Regions from separate parts of the Homo sapiens genome. Here region 2 is linked to region 1. Evidence: promoter capture Hi-C in human tissues and cell types (Jung and others, 2019). All regions are on one chromosome and are shown on one strand. The core of a region is centred on a gene start or on the middle of the fragment in contact, and the rest is flanking DNA. Distances in the headings are between cores, read along the strand shown.

What was found. Contacts are between HindIII fragments. The study calls those that stand out against the background at their distance.
Region 2: a contact is called between the fragment with the promoter of MBD3L3 here and the fragment with the promoter of TNFSF9 in region 1, in 1 of the 25 tissues and cell types used here (heart left ventricle).

The regions. Positions count from the first base shown.
Region 1 is chr19:6,528,713-6,533,274 of GRCh38, forward strand. TNFSF9 (TNF superfamily member 9) reads left to right here and starts at 2,314. Exons shown (of 3, transcript NM_003811.4): 1 at 2,314-2,591; 2 at 4,074-4,104. The coding sequence starts at 2,325. RefSeq lists enhancers at 1-221, 2,992-3,091, 3,693-4,193, 4,194-4,562 and silencers at 2,142-2,371, 2,512-2,581. The HindIII fragment of the contact is 13,420 bases long and covers 2,061-4,562 here.
Region 2 is chr19:7,056,503-7,061,064 of GRCh38, forward strand. MBD3L3 (methyl-CpG binding domain protein 3 like 3) reads right to left here and starts at 2,174. Exons shown (of 2, transcript NM_001164425.4): 1 at 2,059-2,174; 2 at 1-401. The coding sequence starts at 2,103. The HindIII fragment of the contact is 21,543 bases long and covers 657-4,562 here.

The DNA.
Region 1 (4,562 bases), core at 1,064-3,563:
ACTGCACTCCAGCTTGGGCGACAGAGCAAGACCTTGTATCTGAAAGCAAAACAAAAGTCCCTTTATTTTATGGGCTGTTGACTTCTGCTAGCAGAGGGATGAAAGGCGTGGTCTACCCTCCCATCTCCCATGGGGCTGGGAGATGGGAAGGGAGTTGGCCATTGTGGACCCACACTGGTCTGGGCAGACCAGGACTTCAACACCAGCCAAGGGCTTTCCCCGGGTCACGTCCCTCTCCATCTGGGAGTGCTTCCTCTTTTGGGGCCAAGTTTTCACCGCTTCTTGGCCCATCCTCCCAGCCCCGGATTGGCCGCCTCCAGCAGGCCAGAGCAGATGGGAAATGTGTTTCCTCCAACTCGCTCAACACTGTCCCTTTCTTGCAAGGGGAATTTCTCCACCTGGACTCTCCGAGCTTCTGCTTGTAGGGTCCCGAGGGGCTCCTGCCGGGAACCATCCAGTGGGTGGGTGGGGGCAGGCCAGGGAAGGCCCAGGGGTCCCGGGGAAGGTGGCCAGGAGGGCTGAGCATGACACTCAGGGTTCCACTGGGGGGTTGGGGATCAGGGGGCAGATGCTCCAGGAGTGAGGGTGGTTGAGGCTTGGCTGAAGCCTGACCCTTCTTAGGAAGTGCTGGATGTGGGGGAACCCGGGGGAGTCCTAGTGATGGGGGGCTAGGGGGTGCTGAGAGGAGGGGAAGGAGACAAAGAGAGACTAAAGAAGGAAAAGGAGAGAGACAGGGAGAGACAGAGAGTCAGAGAGAGACAGAGGGAATCAGAGACAGAGAGAAACAGGGAGAGAGACAGAAAGAGTGAGAGCCAGAGACATACAGAGACAGGGAGAGACACAGAGATGCATAAAGAGAGGGAGTCAGAGATGGAGAGAGACAGAGATAACGGAGCCAGAGATAGGGAGAGTCAGAGACAGAGAGAAAGAAACACACAGACTGACACAGATAAAAGAGCCAGAGACAGGGAGAGGCAGAGACAAAGAGAGATACAGAGACAGAGATAACAGAGCCAGAGACAGAGAGACAGAGACAGAGATAACAGAGCCAGAGACAGGGAGAGAGTGTCAGAGACAGAGACAGACACAGAGATAACAGAGCCAGAGATAGGGAGAGTCAGAGACAGAGAGAAAGAGACACAAGACAGACATAGATAAAAGAGCCAGAGACAGGGAGAGGCAGAGACAAAGAGAGATACAGAGACAGAGATAGCAGAGCCAGAGACAGGGAGAGAGTGTCAGAGACAGAGAGACAGACACAGAGATAACAGAGCCAGAGATAGGGAGAGTCAGAGACAGAGAGAAAGAGACAGACAGACATAGATAAAAGAGCCAGAGACAGGGAGAGAGACACAGAGACAGAGACATAGAGACAGAGATAACAGAGCCAGAGACAGAGTCAGAGACAGAGACAGAGAGAGCCAGACACAGAGACAGAGAGAGAGAGTCACAGCCAGAGACAGCGACAGAGATAACAGAAGCAGAGAGAGGGAGAAAGATAACAGAGCCAGAGACAGTCAGAGACAGAGATAGAGAGACAGAGATAACAGAGCCAGAGACAGATACAGAGACAGAGATAACGGAGCCAGAGATAGGGAGAGAGAGTCAGAGACAGAGAGAGATATATAGACAGAGATAACAGAGCCAGACATGGGGAGAGAGAGTCAGAGGCAGAGAGAGAGAAGACAGATAGAGAGACAGAGCCAGTGATAACAGAGCCAGAGACAGGGAGAGAGAGTCAGAGAGAGATACAATGAGAGACAGAGATAACAGCCAGAGACAGAGTTAGACAGAGAGATACAGAGACAGAGATAACAGAGCCAGAGACAGGGAGAGAGAATTAGAGACAGAGATAGAGAGAGACAGAGACAGAGATAATACAGGCACAGAGGCACGCATAGACATAAATTGGCAGAGAGAGAGAAAGATCTCTTTCCACCCACTGCAGAGGCAATCAACAGAGACAGAGAAAGACGTTAACGGGGAGACACAGAGAGCAAAGGAGACTGAGTCAGCAAGAGACCCACAGAGATACCGGGAAAGAGCGGCAGAGAGGGAGAACCAGGGCGATGGAGAGACAGCAGGGAGAAAGGAACCTGGAGCCGAGCTTGGAAGGCCGGAAACGGAAAGGAGAGCGAAAAGCGGAGAGAGATCCGAGTGGAGAAAATTCCGCAGAGTCACGGGGACGAGGGGAAAGGCTCTGGGCTGGGAAGGGGCGTGGCCGCGGGCGGAGGGGCGTGGCCGCGGGCGGAGGGGCGTGGCCTCCTTTTGTAGCCAAGCAGCTATAAAAAGCGGCGCGCTGTGTCTTCCCGCAGTCTCTCGTCATGGAATACGCCTCTGACGCTTCACTGGACCCCGAAGCCCCGTGGCCTCCCGCGCCCCGCGCTCGCGCCTGCCGCGTACTGCCTTGGGCCCTGGTCGCGGGGCTGCTGCTGCTGCTGCTGCTCGCTGCCGCCTGCGCCGTCTTCCTCGCCTGCCCCTGGGCCGTGTCCGGGGCTCGCGCCTCGCCCGGCTCCGCGGCCAGCCCGAGACTCCGCGAGGGTCCCGAGCTTTCGCCCGACGATCCCGCCGGCCTCTTGGACCTGCGGCAGGTGAGACGTGCCCCGACCCTCGGTAGCTGGTCTCGCGGGAGACCCCTACCGCCCCTCTGGGACTCCCTTCTCCCTCCCGCACCCCCAGGGACACCTGTTCTACACTCCCGGCCGGGGAGAGGAGACCCACCGGGGCTCCCATTCTCCATCTAGCACCGAGGCCGGGGGGGCACACCTTTCATCCCGCACCCCTACGACACCTCATCTGTACCCCAGGCCGGGGGCGGGGAGGAGACCGCCCAACAGTTCTTTTTGGACCCCCCAAGGGTCTCCTTCTTCTAGTCCGGGGGGCACCCCTTTCATCCTGCGCCCGCTACGAGACCCTATCTGTATCCCGGGAGGGGGAGAGGAGACCCCCACAAGTTCTTTTTGGACCTCCAAGGGCTCTCCTTCTCCGTCTTGCACGGGAGGGCACCCCTTTCATTCCGCATCCCGAGACCCCATCAGCACCCCAGGCCAGGAGGAGGAGACCCCCACAGTCCTCAACCCCTCAGGGATACGTCTTCTGCACCCCGGGTCGGAGAAAGGCTGGCTTCCCTCCATGTGGCAGTGGGTGGGGGCACCCCTCTTCATTCCGCATTCCCAAGGCACCCCATCTGCACCCTGGACGGGGGACCCTCCGCGGTTCTCCAACCCTCGACGGCTTCCTTTCTCTATGTAGGACTTAGGACATTGAGGGCACCTCTTTTTACCCCGCACCCCCACAAGCTCTGCATCTCTGGGGGGAACCTTTTTTCCATCCCCGATCCGAGGGGGGCACTTCCTCTTTATCTGGGACCGCCAAGGAGACCCCCAGTTCCTTTGCTAACTCCCAAAGAGCCTTATCCCCAACATCTGAGGTACCCCTCTCCCTTTCAAGACCCCCAGGGGAATACCCCCAAGGGGGCTGGAAAGAAGAGGGATCGCTTTTCCCTCCTGAATTCTTGGAGATCTGTCCTTGGGGCAGGTTGAGCCACCAGCTTCGTGTGTGTGTGTGTGTGTGTGTGTGTGTGTGTTCGTGTTTGTGTGGGTGTTTGTGTTCGTGTGTGTGTGTTCGTGTGGGGGTGCGTATGTGTGTGTGTTCGTGGGTGTGTTTGTGTTCGTGTGGGTGTGTGTTCGTGTGGGTGTTTGTGTTTGTTCGTTCGTGTGGGTGTTTGTGTTCATGTGGGTGTGTTTGGATATTTGTGTTCGTGTGTGTCTGTGTGTGTTCGTGTGGGTGTTTGTGTGTGTTTGTGTTTGCGTTCGTGTGTGTGTTCGTGTTTGTTCGTGTGTCTGTGTGTTAATGTGGGTGTTCGTGTGTGTGTTCGTTTGTGTTTGTGTTCGTGTGTTTGTGTGTTTGTGTGTGTGTGTGTGCGGTCTCTGTTCTTTAGTTGGGAGGGAAGGGAAGCGTAGGCTTCAGGTCGGCACAGACTCTGGGGACCCTGACAGCTGAAGTGAGTGGGGACAGAACCTCCATTTTCTAGGGGAACCCCCATCCACTTTCCTCCTTTCTACTTTTAACAGGGCATGTTTGCGCAGCTGGTGGCCCAAAATGGTAAGTATCCTCCGCCACTTCCGGTCCCTGGCCCCCCACCATCCCCACCCCGGGATACGAAGAAGGGGGAACCTGGAGAGTGAGGCTCTGCCGCACACTGGCTTTGACCCTTGACCGCTGCTGTCTCTGAAAGCTGCTACTTCCCCTCTTTGAACGCCACCGATCCCTCTTTCTGACTTGCTCTGACTCTCTGGATGCCATGGCCTCCCCATCAGACCCCCATCTGGGCCCACCTGGGACCCCTGCCCTCTCAGAGCTGGGGCTTGACACCCCCAACCCCCAGCCTGGTTTTGTGTCTCTGGCCTCCTTCTTTTCGAAACCCTCTTCCCCGCTGCTTTTCTTCCCTCTTTCCTGCCCCTTCCCCACTCTCCCAGCCTCTCTTCCCTACCTCTTCCCCTCGCCCAGAGCCTCCTCCTTACTCCCATTCTCTTCCCCATCCCCAGGCCCTCCTCCTGTCC
Region 2 (4,562 bases), core at 924-3,423, 530 kb after region 1:
ACAGCTGGAAACCGCCCAGGGGTGGGCTCAAGCGGGCTGCGCACACGCTCAGCACCAGCCCTGTCCAGAGATTCACCGGCCGTCCCCGGTGCAAGGATACTTAAGACGCTCTCCAAATGCAGTGGACTTGAACCTTCTCCTTGGCTGCTGCAGGGCTGCAGGGCCTGCAGTCTCCGGTAGGCGCAGAGTTGCTGCGGCTTCTCCAGGTGCTCGTCCCCTTTTCTGCGTCTGACCTGGTTGTCAGGATGAGACCTGATCCTTGTCACCGGCCTCCGGAAGATGCAGCTGGTGAGTCTCATGGGGAGAGCAGACCTCGCAGCTCGTCTCCGATGGGCCTTGGCCATGTGGATTTCTCGTTTCTTCTGTAAAGCCCAGGGCATCATGTTTCTTTTGAGCTTCCCCTTTCAAAAGAAAAGAAAAGAAAATGTGAAATTTCAACCAATTGGAGACAGGAGAAGATCAGCTGTGGGGGGCTTCTCTCAGCTCAGTGGAATCTTCCCACCAGCCTCTCTTTCTGGGGAAATGTGTCTCAAATGGCAGTGTACATCCTCAGCCCCTGCAGGGCTTGCTAAAGTCAGATATGTGGACCTGAACCCAAGTAAGTCTGGGGTGGACCCTAGAGTCTGCATTTCTCCGTGTGACCCTGATGCTGCTGGCAGGAGCTCCAGGCATTGACACTGGGTCCTGGGACCTCATCGGGCTGATGCGAGTCAAGGACTAAATGCTCAAGGTCATGACCCAGGGTCAGTTCCAGACCTTGTCCCTCCTCATCCTCCTCAGAGGACACCCCTCTCTTCTCTTCCCTGCCACTGTCAGCTACACAGATGCTGGTGGTGCCTCCTAACCCATCCCCAACAGGACACCGGGATCCCAGACTTCCCTGTTCACCAAGACCTCACGCTTCTCTGTATCTCTTTCTGCTGTGCTTCAGGACACAACGTCATTTTCATAGCTCCTTGACTCTCTGGTTTCCAAAGAAATCCTGCACTCGCCACCTTAAATACTCACTGCCACACCCAGATCCCACCTTCACCTGAACACCTCCTGCTCATGAAGAAAAACCTCAGAAACACCATGTTGCTTTCTGTTTCTAATAAGCTCAATTAACTAGAGGTATACCATGAGAGAATCTTTTGATGACATACTGAGAAAGATGATCAAGCGCCTCCTAAGATTTGACGTCCTTTCTTGCTCTAACTCAATTGGAAGACTCTAGTCTCATAAAGCTGTTTCCCCCACAAACCTCATCAGTGCACTTTCCATTTTAAAGCCTTTGTTTCTGTCCTCCTCATTTCATTTTTCGTTGTCCTGGCATAAAGATTAATACTACCCCTTACAGTACCCCTGGCATAAAGATTAATACTGACCCAAGATGTTCCCCTTTGGAGGGAAAATTATTTAGTCCCCTTAGTTACGGGGCACTTATGATGTGCCAAGCTGTGCAGTAGAACCCCTGATCCAGAAGTAAACTTCATAAATCACCACTCTGTTGATTTTCATCTTGGTGAGAAGGAAGACATAATAAACGCACTAAAAACAAATTTCTGGTGGAATATCAGATATAAGTAAGTTCCATGATGAAGAAGAAGGGAGTGACAGAGAGGGATGGAAGGAGGAGAAACAGAGAAACAGAAAAGAAATTCACTACAATGAATCGTGACAGTGAGTTTAGGGAATAAGCAACTCATCATGAAATTTTACCAGAGAACTAATTTTTTTTGTTTTTTGTTTTTTTAAAAAAACGGACCAAGCAATTTCTGGTTCAGGAGCTTTCCAGAGAAGGAGACAATTTGAAGACTGCAAGGCCAAATCATACTTCTTCCCTTTCCTAGTGATGTTGGATTTTTAAAAAAAAATTCAAAGCTATTATCCCCATACAGTTTCATGGGCAAAAATGAGAATACTTTGAACATTATTCAACAGATATTACCACCTGAGGTATAACTTTCCACAACATCCAGTTTTAAGAACAACCCACTGCTAACTGTAAAGCTGTCTTACAGAAGGAAAAAGGACACATATGGACATTCCTGTAATCAATAAATATCCCGTACTCACCAGAACAGGTGGGCTCGGAAAAGAGGTGAACGCAGGCTCTCCCATAGCCGTAGAGTTTCTCTTGCTGACCCCACTCTTGAGATGCAGACAACCCTTGGCTTGCCGGAAAATGCAGTGACTTCTGCATCTGGTTCCCCTTTTTATAGAGAAAGCGAGTGATAATGCAATCAGTGGATAATCCACAGGGAACACCCTGTCTCCGCCCATTGGATTTGAGGCATTTCTAAATCTTTATACAGAAACCAATGTGGTGTTACCTACACAGAGTGTTAGTAGAGAAAGAATTGAATACGTGTGTATGTGTGTGTGGCGGGGTGGTATTTACAGTTAATATCAGCATTTTAGATATGTTTCCCTTTTTCTCCCAGTTTTCCAAACATCTTTGAATACTTTCTATAGAAATAGGAATGGAATTGTCTATGTACATAAATGTTCACGTAATATTTGATTTAATAACAACAACTAAAGACCATTTAAATGTTCTTTAAGAAAAGAAAGCCCAAAACTTTTATTCACAATCCTATAGAATATATCACACAGTTGTTGCAAAGAAATTACTACTTTGGCCGGGAGAGGTGGCTTACGCCTATAATCCCAGCACTTTGGGAGACCAAGGCAGGTAGATCACCTGAGGTCAAGAGTTCGAGACCAGCCTGGCCAACATGGTGAAACCCCATTTCTACTAAAAATACAAAACTTACCCTGGTGTGGTGGCATGCACCTGTAATCCCAGCTACTCGGGAGGCTGAGGCAGGAGAATCGCTTGAACCTGGGAGGGAGAGGTTGCGGTGAGCCGAGATCGCACCACTGCAGCTCAGCATGGGCGACAGAGTGAGACTCCATCTCAAAAAAAAAAAAAAAAAAAAGTTCTATTTCGTGCATTTACATTTAATATAATTACCAGTAAATTTGAAATTGTTTCAATCATCTCATTTTTCCTAGGTTTTGACTTAACTGACTCACGTTCCTTTTGCCTTTACTTGACTGACTTTGAATTAAATATGTTTATTATTTTATTGTTATCTCCATGAACTTGCTAGTTACAGCCATACAAATCTGTGTAGTTATGCTAATAATTAAATCATATACTCTGATACAATTAATTACTTTAACCCCTCCCACAAAATGCTAATACTTTAGAACACTTTTAATTCTCTTTTTAGCTGTTTCTGACTTTTGTATTACCATTCTCATGCATATTAATTCTACACATATTTTACTCTCCAGGAGACATTTCTAGTATTGCTTCATAAAGCAATATGCACTAATATTTACCTACAGCTTATCTTGTGCATTCATCTTTGTTCCTTTCTGCATTTCTAGCATTCAATCTGGGATTATTTCCCTGTGGACTTGAGAATTCATTCTAGTATTTTTCTTCTAATTCAATGCTGCTAACAACTAATTGTTTTCCTTTACACTTTTATTTAGGCATCTTTATTTGGGGGCAATATTGCTGTCAGGTACGGGTGTCTGGTTTGACAAATTTCTTTCAGCATATTAGAAATGGTGCCCCACTGATGTCTATCTCATTTTACCTGTGTTGAGATGTCAGCTGTCAGGCTTTTCCTTGCTTCTTTGGTTTCCACATTCTCTAAACTCTTTCTCGTTGTGGTTGGTTTGTAGGCCACAGTGTAGCTCATTATTGCTTCCTGTGTATTTCCTTTGCCTAGAGGGTGTGGAGTCAATTGCATCTGTGGGTTGATGTCTTTCATTGGTTTGGAAGGTGCATATGTATCCTTCACTTCTGATATCCATTCTTGTCCAAGTTCTCTCTACTCTTCTTTTAATCACATCCCACTTGTCTCTGAAGTTTCCAATGTTGTTCATGCTTTGGTGGGAATATTTGCTCTTGAACCTTGTTCCACTTTGCTAATCTACCTTTTTTCTAGGTTCAGTCTCATTTTAATTTTCCTTCCTTCCTTCCTTCCTTCCTTCCTTCCTTCCTTCCTTCCTGTCTTCCTTCCTTCCTGTCTTCCTTTCTTTTCTCTCTTTTCTTTCGAGATGGGGTCTCACTCTGTCACCCAGGCTGGAGAGCAGTGGCGGGATCTCAGCTCACTGCAACCTCTGCCTCCCGGGTTCAATGATTCTCCTGCTTCAGCCTCCCAAGTAGCTGGGACTACAGGCACATGCCACCACACCCAGCTTATTTTTGTATTTTTTGTCGAGACGGGGTTTCACCATGTTGGCCAGGGTGGTCTCGAACTACTGACCTCAAGTGATTCACCTGCCTTGGCCTCTCAAAGTGCTAGGATTACAGGCGTGAGCCACCGTGCCTGGCCTAATTTCTTATACTCTTAGTTTCAGTTCTAAGCATAAAACACAGTAAATAGCTTTAATTAAAAACTAGGTAGAAGAACAGCTTCACAGTCAATGAGGAGATAATCTGCCTTCTTGATACAATGAAACTCTAAATAGAAAGGAGAAAATTCAAATTTGAACCATATTAAGATACATTAAGAGCAACTATTCATTCAAATACATCAGTAAGAGAGAAAGCGTGG